Linked DNA regions of Homo sapiens: region 1 is linked to region 2. Evidence: promoter capture Hi-C in human tissues and cell types (Jung and others, 2019). All regions are on one chromosome and are shown on one strand. Each heading gives the region's core, a stretch centred on a gene start or on the middle of the fragment in contact. The rest is flanking DNA. Distances are from core to core; before and after follow the strand shown.

The links. The method cuts DNA at HindIII sites, captures the fragments that hold promoters and counts their contacts. A contact is called where the count stands out against the background at its distance.
Region 1: a contact is called between a fragment that was not itself captured here and the fragment with the promoter of CTLA4 in region 2, in 1 of the 25 tissues and cell types used here (mesenchymal stem cells).

Annotation. Positions count from the first base shown.
Region 1 is chr2:203,417,529-203,424,448 of GRCh38, reverse strand. All of the region lies in intron 11 of ABI2 (abl interactor 2), which reads right to left. Among named protein-coding and RNA genes, the nearest start is that of ABI2, 93 kb to the right of the region's middle. The HindIII fragment of the contact is 6,605 bases long and covers 655-6,920 here.
Region 2 is chr2:203,863,437-203,869,808 of GRCh38, reverse strand. CTLA4 (cytotoxic T-lymphocyte associated protein 4) reads right to left here and starts at 2,038. Exons shown (of 4, transcript NM_005214.5): 1 at 1,758-2,038. The coding sequence starts at 1,866. The HindIII fragment of the contact is 1,698 bases long and covers 1,297-2,994 here.

The sequences.
Region 1 (6,920 bases), core at 2,708-5,207, 450 kb after region 2:
CACTCCAGCCCAGGTGACAGAACGAGACCCTGATAAGTAATTTTTAAATGAATATTCATTTTCACTCCAGGGAAAGATATACACCAGTAGTTTACTTCACTCCAGGGAAAGATATACACCAGCAGTTTACTTCATCTAATTCTTTACTGTAAAGCCATTCATCAAAAAGCAAAATACTCTTGATTTAGTGCAACAAACTTTTATCAAAGTAACTCTAAAGCGGTGTAATAAAGTATCTGTGTTTTCACCAATATTCAAAATACCGATGTTGAGAAATGTAAAATCTGTCTAGATTTTATTTAGTCTGGAAAACTGGTTTTGGCAATAGGGAAGAAAGTCACTTTTTCCAATTATGCATGTATATCACGCATAGTATCAAAATCATATGGGGAACTGATAAAGCACATGTAAGAAAAAACTTAAAATGCTAGACATCTGGTTTTTGTGCAGTTATGACTGAAACAGAAAAGGACTTACACATTGTTCTTCTAAATGTTTCTGCTAAAGTAAAAATACATTCTAAATTTCAAAGTACATTGTTCATATTTAGCATTTCAATTGAATACATTCTAGAATATTTTATGAAGGTCTGTAAAACTGAAAAAAACTTCTTAGCTTAAATGATTCTCTTTTTAATTTTAATCCTATAATTTTATATGAAGTATGCTGCAGAGTTAAAGATAAGCAAAGAATAATGGTACCATGCCAGCAGAAAAGGACCCAGATTGGGCTGGGCGCGGTGGCTCACGCCTGTAATCCCAGCACTTTGGAAGGCCAAGGTGGGCAGATCACAAGGTCAGGTTTGAGACCAGCCTGGCCAATATGGTGAAACCCCGCCTCTACTAAAAATGCAAAATTTAGCAGGCATGGTGGCCGGCGCCTGTAGTCCCAGCTACTCGTGGGGCTGAGGCAGGAGAATGGCGTGAACCTGGGAGGCGGAGGTTGCAGTGAGCCGAGATTGCACCACTGCACTCTAGCCTGAGCGACAGAGCGAGACTCCGTCTCAGAAAAAAAAGGACCCAGATGATTTTTTCTCTCCTAAAATAGTAAATTGAAACAAAGAGGAGCAATCTAAACATAAAACTCTCTACACTATAAACTCCTGGAGGTAAGGGCCCATCACTCATCTCTGTGTATCCCTAGCGCCTAACACAAGGCCTAGCTTTTTGGATACTTCTAAATACATCTATATTCTATATTATTCAGTTACACAGTGAGTAATAAAGGTAACTTAAATACATATTGGGGGAAAAATTAAGGTGATACTAAAATAACAATGTAAAACAAAAAGGCCCAAAAGGAGCATGTTACATAGAAGTGACTGATCTGAACTAAAAAGACTGACCACCAAATATTGTAGGGTATTAGCAACCACACCTAACAATTAAGTACCCTAAACTAGCAAGCCACTGGAAAAATCAAAATGCTAGTAAGATTATCCATTTCAATATACTGTTTGTATTAAATTACATATTGTGAGTTGACATCATTTTATTTATATGGAAAAAAGTTCATCCTAAGCCAGCAAAACATTTAACATACTTTGGAATTTATGTTATAACCTGTCCTGAGGTAGAGCAAAGTTAACCTGGACACTATCAATGAAGAGTTGGTTAAACCACTTAATGTATTCTAAGAAATGTTTTAGAACCCACTGGAGATGCTGTTTCAATGAAAATAATGCTGCTTAACTAATACAGCCATATTCCTTCTGCCCCTACCACTCCAATGAAACTATTCACTTGAAAAAAACTGGCCTTCTACTTTTGAGCCTCTTCTCAGTTCTTTGTCTAATGTTCCTGTAGTGTTTGGCAATGATGATTACCTCTGCCTGCTTCTTGACATTTTCCTCCATGGCTTCCATGACAGTGTCTTCTCCCAGTTATCTGATTACTACGCTTCTGTGGAGCCAGGAAACTAGGAGTCATCTTTGCCTTCCCCTCACTCACCTTCCCCGACATCCCCAAGTCCTGTTAATTCCACCTTCTAAATCTCCCAAATACCAACACTCGACTTCTCTCCATCATCATAGTCACCGCCCCAGTTAGTGCACCCATCTTTAAAATTGATTACATTTATCACTCAGGGTACCTGAGATTTTCTAAGCAGTGTGGGTGGCAGACAGTTTATAGGGACTCTCGATATTTTTTTTCTTTTTATTGAGACAGAGTCTTACTGTCCCCAGGCAGTGGTGCAATCGCAGCTCACTGCAGCCTTCAAACTCCTGGGCTCAGGTGATGCTCCCACCTCAGCCTCCAGAGTAGCTGGAACTACAGGCATGCACCACCATGTCTGGCTAAGTTTTCTAATTTTTTGTAGAGACGAGGGTATCGCCATGTTGCCCAGGCTGGTCTTGAACTCCTCGTCTCAAGCAATCCGCCGGCCTCAGCCTCTTAAAGTGCTTTACAGCACTTTAAGGGATTACAGGTGTGAGCCACTACATGCAACTGGCTCTCTTTCTAGATTTTTTTTTTTTTTTTTTTTGAGACAGAGTCTCACTCTGTTGCCAGGCTGGAGTGCGGTGGCGAGTGATCTTGGCTCACTGCAAGCTCCACCTCCTGGGTTCAAGTGATTCTCCTGCCTCAGCCTCCTGAGTTGCTGGGACTACAGGCGTGCACCACCACACCCAGCTAATTTTTGAACTTGTAGTAGAGGTGGGGTTTCACCATGTTGGCTGGATGGTCTTGATCTCTTGACCTTGTCATCTGCCGGCCTTGGCCTCCCAAAGTGCTGGGATTACAGGCGTGAGCCACCATGCCTGGCCTCTTTCTAGATTTTCTAATCTTAAGTACTGCTTCCTAAAATTGATCTGCTTGAGATCATACCTTCAGTCAAGCAGTCATAAAAGTTTTTATATCCTTTTTGTCCTTCTACTTAAAAAAAGCACAGTGGTGCACTGTCTTAAAGTACAAAACACTGGGTGCCAAAGGGACCATTCAAAATAATGGTGCTCATATTAAAAGAATTACTCCACTGAGTAACTCAATCCGTTTGCAAATCAGGTGGCTCTTATTCCTTTGCTTTCAACAAAATTTAAGAAAGACCTTGATGATACATCATCAAACATGATTTTTGAAGATACGTTATTTGATTTTTGGCAAATAACTTTGAAAAGTGCAGTTACAATGCCACTTGAAAAATCCTTCTATTTGTATCTGCTTATTTATGTAAACAATCTTTTCAGCACCACTACCTTGGTTGAGGCCATTATCCCTTGCTTCAAAGTTTATCCAAAATGGTCTTTACAACTCCTACTTTTCCTCTCCAATGCACTCTACACTATTATCAGGTATCTCCAAAAAAAGTTACATAAGTAGATGGATATTATCATTAACCTTTTTAAAAATCCTCCATAATTTCCCTCTACTACCAGATTTTTTTTTTAATCCAACACCTTCGCATTGTCATTTTTAGCCACCCACCACCTAATTACAATTTATTCCCTTTGCGTGCTCATATCACCCTCTCTCCCTACAACCCACCCCCACCCTCATGCACTGGACACTGCTCTGCCCCAAACAGCCATGCCCTCTCACTCACGTGATTCCCTCAGCTTGGAAGGCCCTTCCTTTCTCTCTTCTCTGCCTGAGAAACTCCTATTCATCATTCAAGGCACCAAGAACGCCATGTTCTCTGAGAAGCTTTCTAGGAATTCCCCAGAAAGAATTAATGGCACTATTCATTTTTTAACAATCATTAATAGAGCATCCATGCTGACTTTTAGAGGTACGAAGATGAACCAGATAAGGGACTGTCGGCTGGGCGTGGTGGCTCACACCTGTAATCCCAGCACTTTGGGAGGCCGAGGTGGGCGGATCACAAGGTCAGGAGATTGAGACCATCCTGGCTAACATGGTGAAACCCTGTCTCTACTAAAAATACAAAAAATTAGCCGGGTGTGCTGGCAGGTGCCTGTAGTCCCACCTACTCAGGAGGCTGAGGCAGGAGAATGGCGTGAACCTGGGAGGCAGAGCTTGCAGTGAGCCAAGACCGTGCCACTGCACTCCAGCCTGGGCAACAGAGCAAGACTCCGTCTCAAAAAAAAAAAAAAAGGGACTGTCACAGTCTTGTGAAGACAGAAATGTTATCTGACAATTCCTATATATCATTTATACTTCTAGCTAAAAGCTGTATCACTGAGCCAGAAGAACAAAAGAATAGATGGCTTTACAAAAGTTAAGAGATACAAAACGGGCAGTAAAAAAGTTTTCCAGGGAGGACTTAATGCTCATAAACTGTAAAGCCAAGACTCAATCCTAGGTCTGCCAGATGCCAGAGCTCACGTTTAGGACAATGGTTAAGAGTGTGGGGTCTAGAGTTATACCACCCAGTCAAATCCCAATTCTAACACTTAACTATTAATAGTTTACAGTACATACTTAACTTTCCTAGGCTTCTTTTTATTCAACTATATAATGGGAATTACAATAGAGCTAACATTTCAAAGCATGTTTTTCTTGGAGATGGAGTTTCGCTCTTGTTGCCCAGGCTGGAGTGCAATGGGGCGATCTCAGCTCTCCCCAACCTCCGCCTCTGGAGTTCAAGTGATTCTCCTGCCTCAGCCTCCCGAGTAGTTGGGATTACAGGCATGCATCACCATGCCCAGCTAATTTTGTACTTTTAGTAGAGACGGGGTTTCTCCATGTTGGTCAGGCTGGTCTCCAACTCCCAACCTCAGGTGTTCGGCCCGCCTCAGCCTCCCAAAGTGCTGGGATTACAGCCCAAAGCATTCTTATATTAAACAAGGCAAACCACATAAAATACAAAGCACAGGCTGGGCGCAGTGGCTCACGCCTGTAATCCCAGCACTTTGGGAGGCAGAGGTGGGCAGATCACGAGGTCAGGAGATCGAGACCATCCTGGCTAACACGGTGAAACCCCGTCTCTACCAAAAAAAAAAAAAATACAAAAAATTACCCAGGCATGGTGGCAGGCGCCTGTAGTCCCAGCTACTCAGCAGGTTGAGGCAGGAGAATGGCGTGAACCCGGTAGTCGGAGCTTGCAGTGAGCCAGGATCACACCACTGCACTCCAGCCTGGGCGACAGAGCGAGACTCTGCCTCGTGGCTCACGCCTGTAATCCCAGCACTTTAGGAGGCCTAGGCGGGCGGATCATGAGGTCAGGAGATCAAGACCACCGTGAAACCACGTCTCTACTAAAAATACAAAAAAATTAGCGGGGCGCGGTGGTGGGCGCCGGTAGTCCCAGCTACTCGGGAGGCTGAGGCAGAAGAATGGCGTGAACCCGGGAGGTGGAGGTTGCTGTGAGCTGAGATCACGCCATTGCACTCCAGCCTGGGCAACAAGAGCGAAACTCCGTCTCAAAAAAAAAAAAAAAAAAAAGATCTTTAATTTAGGAAGGATATTTTTGCTAAGTAAAGAACACTGGGTTGACATTTTCCTTCATTACTTTGAAGATTTTGCTCAATTCTCTGACTTAACAGCTTTTTGATGAGAACCATGCAGTCATTCTTATCTTTGTTCCTCTGTATGTAATATGTCATTTTTCCTCTGATTATCTTTAAGATTTTCTAAGGTACTGGTTTTTAGCAAATTGATTATGATGTGCCTTGGCAAGATTTTCTTTTCTTCTATTTGGGGTTTATTGAACTTCTTGGATCTGTGAGTTTATAGTTTTGTGGGAGACAACTTCTAAAACAGCTCCCAATGATTTCTGCCTCATAGTATTCATGCCTTTATGTAATCCCTACCCCTTCAGTGTTGACTAATCCTATTAACTTGCTTTAATGAACAGAAAATGGCAAAAATGACAGGTCATCGCTGCTGGGTTAAGGTGAAAAAAGGACTAGTGTCTTGCTTGCATTCTCTTTTTGGCGCTTCTTGCTTGTTCATTCTAATGAAGTTAGCTGCCATGTTGTGAGCTGCCCTACGGAGAAGCCTATGTGATCCAGAATTGTGGGCAGCCTCTGGCCAACAGCCAATGAAGAAGCCGAGGCCGTCAGGCCAACAACCCACAAGGAACTAAATCCTGCCAATAACCACGAGTGAGCCTGAAAGCAGTCTCCCTCAGTCAAGCCCTGAGATCACTGCAGCCTCAGCTGATACCTTGATTGCAGCCGTGTGAAGAGTCCCTGAACCAGAGGGCCCAGCTGAGCCACGCAGAGAAACTGGGAGATAATGGATGTTTTGTTTAAGCCACTAAATTTTTGGAATAACTTGTTAGGTAGCAATACACAACTAATATAGTTTTCATCAAACGTGGAAATATTTTGTCTATGATTGTTTCAACTCTTTTTCCTCTCACATCTCCTGGGGACTCCAATTACACATACATAAAGACTATCTGACCTTGTCTCACATTATCTGTTGCTCTGTTTTCCTTTTTGCCTTTTTTTCCACTTTCTTCTCTGTGCCTTATTTTGGATAGTTTCTATTGTCATGGCATCAAGGTTGCTAATGCTTTCTTCTGCAGCATGTGTTTTTCGTCTCCAGAAATATTATGTTTCTCTTTCTCTCTCTCTCTCTTTTTAAAGATATATTCCACGTCTCTCTCATGTTCATGTTCTCCTTTACTTTCTTGATCACATGTGGTATTTATAGTAGCTACATAAAGAAAAAAATTAATTTCCTTCTCTCCAGTGCCTGTTGTTCAATGTCTGAAAACCATTATTTTGTGGGGTTTTAAAATTCCTGTTTTAGGAGGGAGGGTACACCTGATTACTGTTGCTCTCTCTTGGCCAAAAGTGGAAGCCTATTATTTCTTTATAAAAGCTCTCCAAGTGATTCTAATGTGTAGCCAGCTTTGAGACTCAGTGGGTTAGTAGCTTTGATTTTCTTAAAAGAAAATTTCCTTCCAGACAGCACACATTTTTTTCTGAGCTGATTAGTCTTGATGGATTTGAAAGCTTGTATCCCAAAGTGCTACATCATAATTAGCTAATATCAAAGAAGCTTTTCACT
Region 2 (6,372 bases), core at 789-3,288:
TCTTTTCCCACAGGATAAAGGAGACCAGCTCTCCATACAGAGAGGCTTGCATCAACTCAAAAATAGTGGCTGCATGCCAAATTACCTTCCTGTAACTAACCAGGCCCCTCTCCAGTCAGTCTGACAAGTGAAACTCAAAACTTGTGTTGCATGATGTCACTCATCTGCTCAATCCCTTTGACACTTTACTAACACTGATCGCAAAAACAAATACAATAAATAACATTCAATGAGTCCCCCATGATCCAATTCCAATCTATCACTCTGGTCTGAATTTCTAGGACACACTTTCCTGCTTATAAATCACCCTATATTAGAGACACTAGTCCCTTCCACCAAGCCACTTGCACGGGACATCTGTCCTCAGAAGAGAAAACAGTTTGGCAGCAGCCATTGTCATGTCTATTCCAGCAGCTCTAGCTAGCTAGACTACAGCTTCCTTCCCTAACCCTCACCTCTGCCTATCAGAGATGCCCTCTGAGCATCCTTAGCACTGTGATAACTCCATTGCAGTAGTTCATTACTTTCTGCTCTGTATTAAAGTTATTTGTGAGCTAATCATATCTCCTCACTCTTTTACTTGTGGTTCATGAACTCCTGTGAGCAGTGATTATAGCCCACCCAAGTGAGCACTCAATAATCTTTATTGTATTGACTCTAAGCTTAAGAAATCCTAAATGTCCTGCCCTCTCCCCAAGCAAGCTCACACTCATCACCACTAAATGCGGTCACACTCAACTTTCCAGTATTGGGAGGGTCCTGTTACTGGTTGAGATAAATTTACTTTAGGAAATTTAAATACTTCTAAGAGTGTTTATTTAATCTTTACATATTTAAAACATGTAAAAATAAGAAAACATATATGAATATTTCTTCTCCAGTAAAAATTAAATCATCAAATATCTTTTGAGTACCTACTTCATACAAACTACATGGTTTCTTAACCAAGAAGGTCTAGAGAGAGATAAGGTTGAGATTCAATGGATATACTCATCATTTTAAGCCGTGTAACAAACCTGGTGTCAGTCTCTGAAGAGCTGAAAACTGAGGATCTGCATCTGAAACCCACACGTAGGTCAGGCAACAATTAAGTATTGTATGCCAAACAGACTGGTGGCTTTCTTTCTTTCCTTTTCCTTGTCTTTTTTTTTTGGCAATTTCAAACTTTTATTTTTAAATAATTGGCTAATTAGCTAGTAGAATTGATTAAGAGAACCTTAAAACCTTGAATTAAGTAAAGAAGGCATTCTTCCCACAATTTCCCTACATTTTAAACAAGCTGGCTAATTCATTTATAAAGTATATGAATCCGAGGACCTTAAAACCTTGAATTGTATAGCAAAAAAACTCTTCCCAGGATTTGCTTAAGTCAATTTTTTTTAAAGGAACTTGTGAGCTCATCCTGAAACCCAGCTCAAATGTATTCAGGACTATGGCTATCCTTTCCCTCTTAAATCACTTCCAGTCTCATAGAAGGGTCTGAAATTGCCTGTGTCTCTCTACTAAACCAACTCACATGCATTCATGAAGCCCCTACTAAATACCTGGCGCTCTGTTCTGAGCTATCTCTTTGCCTTATTTGCTGCCGCCCAACTGCTCCCTGCTGGCCCTGGAATACAGAGCCAGCCAAGCCAGATTGGAGTTTTACCTTTAACTTCTGGCTTTGCTATAAATCACTGCCTTTGACTGCTGAAACAAATGAAACCCAGGTAGGAGAAACACCTCCTCCATCTTCATGCTCCAAAAGTCTCACTCACCTTTGCAGAAGACAGGGATGAAGAGAAGAAAAAACAGGAGAGTGCAGGGCCAGGTCCTGGTAGCCAGGTTCAGCTGAGCCTTGTGCCGCTGAAATCCAAGGCAAGCCATGGCTTTATGGGAGCGGTGTTCAGGTCTTCAGGAAGTAGAGCAAAACCTTTCAGGATCCTGAAGCTTTGAAATGTGTTTGAACCCACACAGAATCAAGGACTTTATATAGATAGCTTTGATCCCAGATATGTATTACACATGTGCACACACAGAAGGCACTTGAATAGAAAGCCTTTTTGTTTTGGTTTTACGAGAAAGGAAGCCGTGGGTTTAGCTGTTACGTCGAAAAGACAACCTCAAGCACTCAACTGAACAAAACAAGCCAATCCATGGATGGAAAATGTATTCAATTTGAAACTGAAGCTTCATGTTCACTTTGAGGATCTGGATAACTAAGTGGAGACTTGGAGAATTTCCTGGAGTACAAGGGTCCTCCTAAATCCCAATTTTATTCAATCTTCTGGGCATCCTTAACCATCCAGTCCAATTCATTTCATTGACAACTCCAAAACTACTAGGCTGCTAACTTTCTGAGCCCTTGGGCTAATGGCAGGATTTGTCTAGGCATCATTAATAAAAACTGTATTCTATCTGTGAAGCACCATCCTTCTAATGGTCCCTTGACAGCTTTACAAATAAGTTTATTTCTCCTAAATCCATTTAGCATTTGGTTAAGAGAAAAAAACTAAAATCACAAGAAATAAACTGAAAATAGGCGGAAAAGAAGCTGCCTCTGGTTTTGCAGAAGGAAAGAATTCAGGTGTTCTTAAAAGCCTTAACTCAACAGAGACAAAACAGAGTTGAAGAAGGTCCAAAGAAAAGCCAACCCAAATGATTCAAGAGATTAGAGCCGTCCATAAAAGGATAGACTTTTTTTTCTAATACAAATTTTTCAAGCAGAAAATTCAAAAGTGAAGATTAAATATAACCAGAGTCCTTAAATTTGTGACAGCTGTAGACAGGACCAATGATCTAACAAAAAGAATTTGAAACATTGAGGACCTTCCTTAAATCTGGAGAGTTTTCATACATTTTAATAAAGAAAGAAACATTCATGGGGAACCTGTAATATGCCCGGAATTCTGTGCACTTAGGATTGAATGATGACAAAACAAAAACATAGTTGATACCTTAAGGGGCTTCTAGAAGGCTGACATGCAAACAGACAGTTGTAACAGGGAATATGACATTTGCCTACTCCAGTCCGTCCATGGTTTCCCATTGTCCACACCTCAGCACAGCAGAGGAGACTCTGCAGAATACTCACCAAATGCCTCCCTCTTTGGCCTGTACCCCAGCATTCCCTCCCATTCCCCCTTCCTGCATTTGTCTTTCCTTCCACGTGCCTCTTTCAGGCCTCATCACCTTTACCCATGCTGTTCCTACTGCCTTTTTTCTCCTATTATCTTATTTTATACTCCTTCTCATCCTCCAGGACTTAGCTCAGCTGTCATCTCCTCCAGGAAGCCTCTTCTTTTTTTTTTTAAAATTTTATTATTATTATACTTTAAGTTTTAGGGTACATGTGCACAACATGCAGATTTGTTACATATGTATACATGTGCCATGTTGGTGTGATGCACAGAAGCCTTTTCTGACCTGCCTGTTTTCTATACACTGCTACACATTATAGAAACCTTCAAGCCCCAGCTCAAGCGCCAACAAGCAATAACAACCTAATGGGCACTTCCTAATGCCAGACTGGGCAACAGAGGTTTTTTAAAAAGTGAAAAACAAATGTTCCTGCCCTCAAGAGGAACACACAGCAGTGGCAGGGACAGACAGCTAAACCCATGATCATGATAGAGTGAGATCAATGCTGGAATTGAAGTATTATGTAGAGGAGCAGAAGCCAGTGGTTCAGCCTGTGGAAGTCAGAAAGGGCTTCTCAGAAGACGAAAAGCCTGAACTTATTATTGAGAACAGAGAAAAGGGTGGATATTCAGACAAGAAGAATAACATGGGCTAAAGTTGGAAACGGCATGAAGAGTTCATTATGGTCACAGGACAAAGCTTGTCTGGGGATGAGCAGAAGGTGCAAGCGGATGCTCTTAGCAGCAAGGGCCAATGAAACATAAGGAGCAAACTGGTATGACTGAGTTCACATTTGGGGGAAATTTTAGGGATGGGGAGGATGGGTTCAGGGAGAAATGTAACCAGGAAGACTGGGAAGAAGACTATTGGAATACGCCAGGCACCAGGATTTGGAAAGCTTTCTGAAGGGGGCAAAATAGTAAATATGTTATGATTTGCAAACGGTGGGGTCTCTGTTGCCACTACTCAACTCTGTCATTTTAGAATGAAAGAAGCCATATATTATATGTAAACAAATGGGTGTGTGTGCATTCCAATAAAACTTCATTTACGAAAATAGGTGAAGTCTGGATTTGGCCTGTGGGCCATGGTTTGCCAACCCCTGGTCTAAACTAAGGTAATGACAGCTGTGAAGACGAGGTCCCTATGGGACTAGTCCACAATCAGTGAGTGGAAGGAGAAGTTTAGAATGAATGACACCAGAATTATGGTTTGAGAAGTACTGTGGTGCTGCAGAAATTATTCAAATGTCAAGTTTTCTTTCTTTTCTTTTTTATTTTTTTGAGACAGAGTTTCACTCTTGTTTCCCAGGTTGGAGTGCAGTGGCGCGATCTCGGCTCACTGCAACCTCTGCCTCCTGGGTTCAAGTGATTCTCCTGCCTCAGCCTCCCAAGTAGCTGGGATTGCAGGCACCCACCACCACGCCCAGCTAATTTTTTGTATTATTTTAGTAGAGATGGGGTTTCGCCATGTTGACCAGGCTAGTCTCAAATTCCTGACCTCAGGTGATCTACCCGCCTCGGCCTCCCAAAGCGCTGGGATTACAGGCGTGAGCCACCGCGCCCAGCAAGTTTTGTTTCTTTCAAGTCCATAACAACCCTACAAGACAAGAGTTACCATTTTTCCCATTTTATAAAGAAGGAAATCAAGGCATTGAAAGTTAAGGTGACTTACCCAATCACCCGTAGGAAGTGGCAGAGCCAGGATTTGAAGCCAGTGATACCTTTATCACTATGCTAAAGCAAAGATTTTGAAGCCCAAGATAACTGGATTTGTATCCTAGCATGGGGACTTGCTTACTGTTGACCTGGGGCTCAAAGCCCAATGTCCTCCAGATAATGGCATCTAATTCTCAAGATTATTGAAAAGATTAAATGAGATAATGCATGTAACATGTATAAAAGGCCTATTGTAACAGATAGCCACTCAATAAATAGGCCTTTCTTATTATAGGGTCAATGAGAAGACAGAGGTGCAATTTACTGGAATAAATAACAGGAAGAGCAGGTGAGAAAGTGAAATGACAGCTTTCATCTGAGTATGTTGAGTTTATGGCATCCATGGAAAATAGTTGCCAATAGGATTCTGGAGCACAGGAAGAGACATTAGTTTAGGCAACTATGAAGCCACTGATGAAAATGTCACAGGCCAAGCCACAAAACGAGCATTCTTTAAACATTTGTTAAATAGGTAGGTAAATGAATGAAGACAGTTTAACATAAGAAGAGATGAGGGTTGTAATTAGAACTTTCAAAGACGTCTTACCAGATTCCTTAATTATGCTCTTATGAAACTAATTCTGTCATAGCAAGAAAATTCAAATGGTTGTAAAAAAAATGCTGGGTAAAAGAATCTTGGTGAGAAAAGATATATTCACATATACCACCCCACAGATTACTTGATAATTACAATAGGGAAAAGATAATTGATAAATCTAGCAGATACTGCTTTAACCAAGTGATCCCAACTGAAGATTACTGTGATGGAGTGTTCTGACATAGGGTACCTCCAGATACAATACACTGAGAAGGACACAACAACTTTGTGTAGTTATTGCCAAAATTGTTTTAACTGAATCTAAGCATGAAGAAATAATCAGACAAATCCATATTCTGCAAAATAACTGGCCTAGATTCTTCAAAAATGTTAACATCACAAAAGATTAAAAAGGGAAAAGCCTGGAAAACCATTCTAGATTAAAGGAGAAAATAGAGACATGATGACAGAATTTAATGTGTTATTATTGATTGAAAAAAATAATACAAAGCAGATTACTGAGAAACTGGGGGAAATTTGAGTATAGCCTATATTTCATAATAGCATTGCCTTAATGTTTAATTTCCTGAATGTGATCATCGTACTGGGGTTATGTAGAGAACCATCCTTGTTTATAGATAATACTTAGGTATTCGAGGTTTAAGTGTCAGAATGTCAGCAAGTACTCTCAGAAGGTTCAGCAAAAATATGTGTCTGTGTTAGCAGAGAAAGATAAAAAGAATTAAACAGCAGTGATGGAATTTTAACAATTGGTGAATCTAGGTGAAGAATATGTGTGTATTCATGGTACTATTCTTACAAATTCTTTGTAAATTTGAGGTTTTTCAAAAAAATTCGAAGTAAAAATTATAAGGCCAACTATTTATATTATTGATAATATGGTAGGCAATAAACGAGGGATGAGCAAACTGAAATTTAGAGAGGAAAAGTGACTTGCCGAAGGTGATTCTCCATCCCCTTTCCTCAGATCCAAGC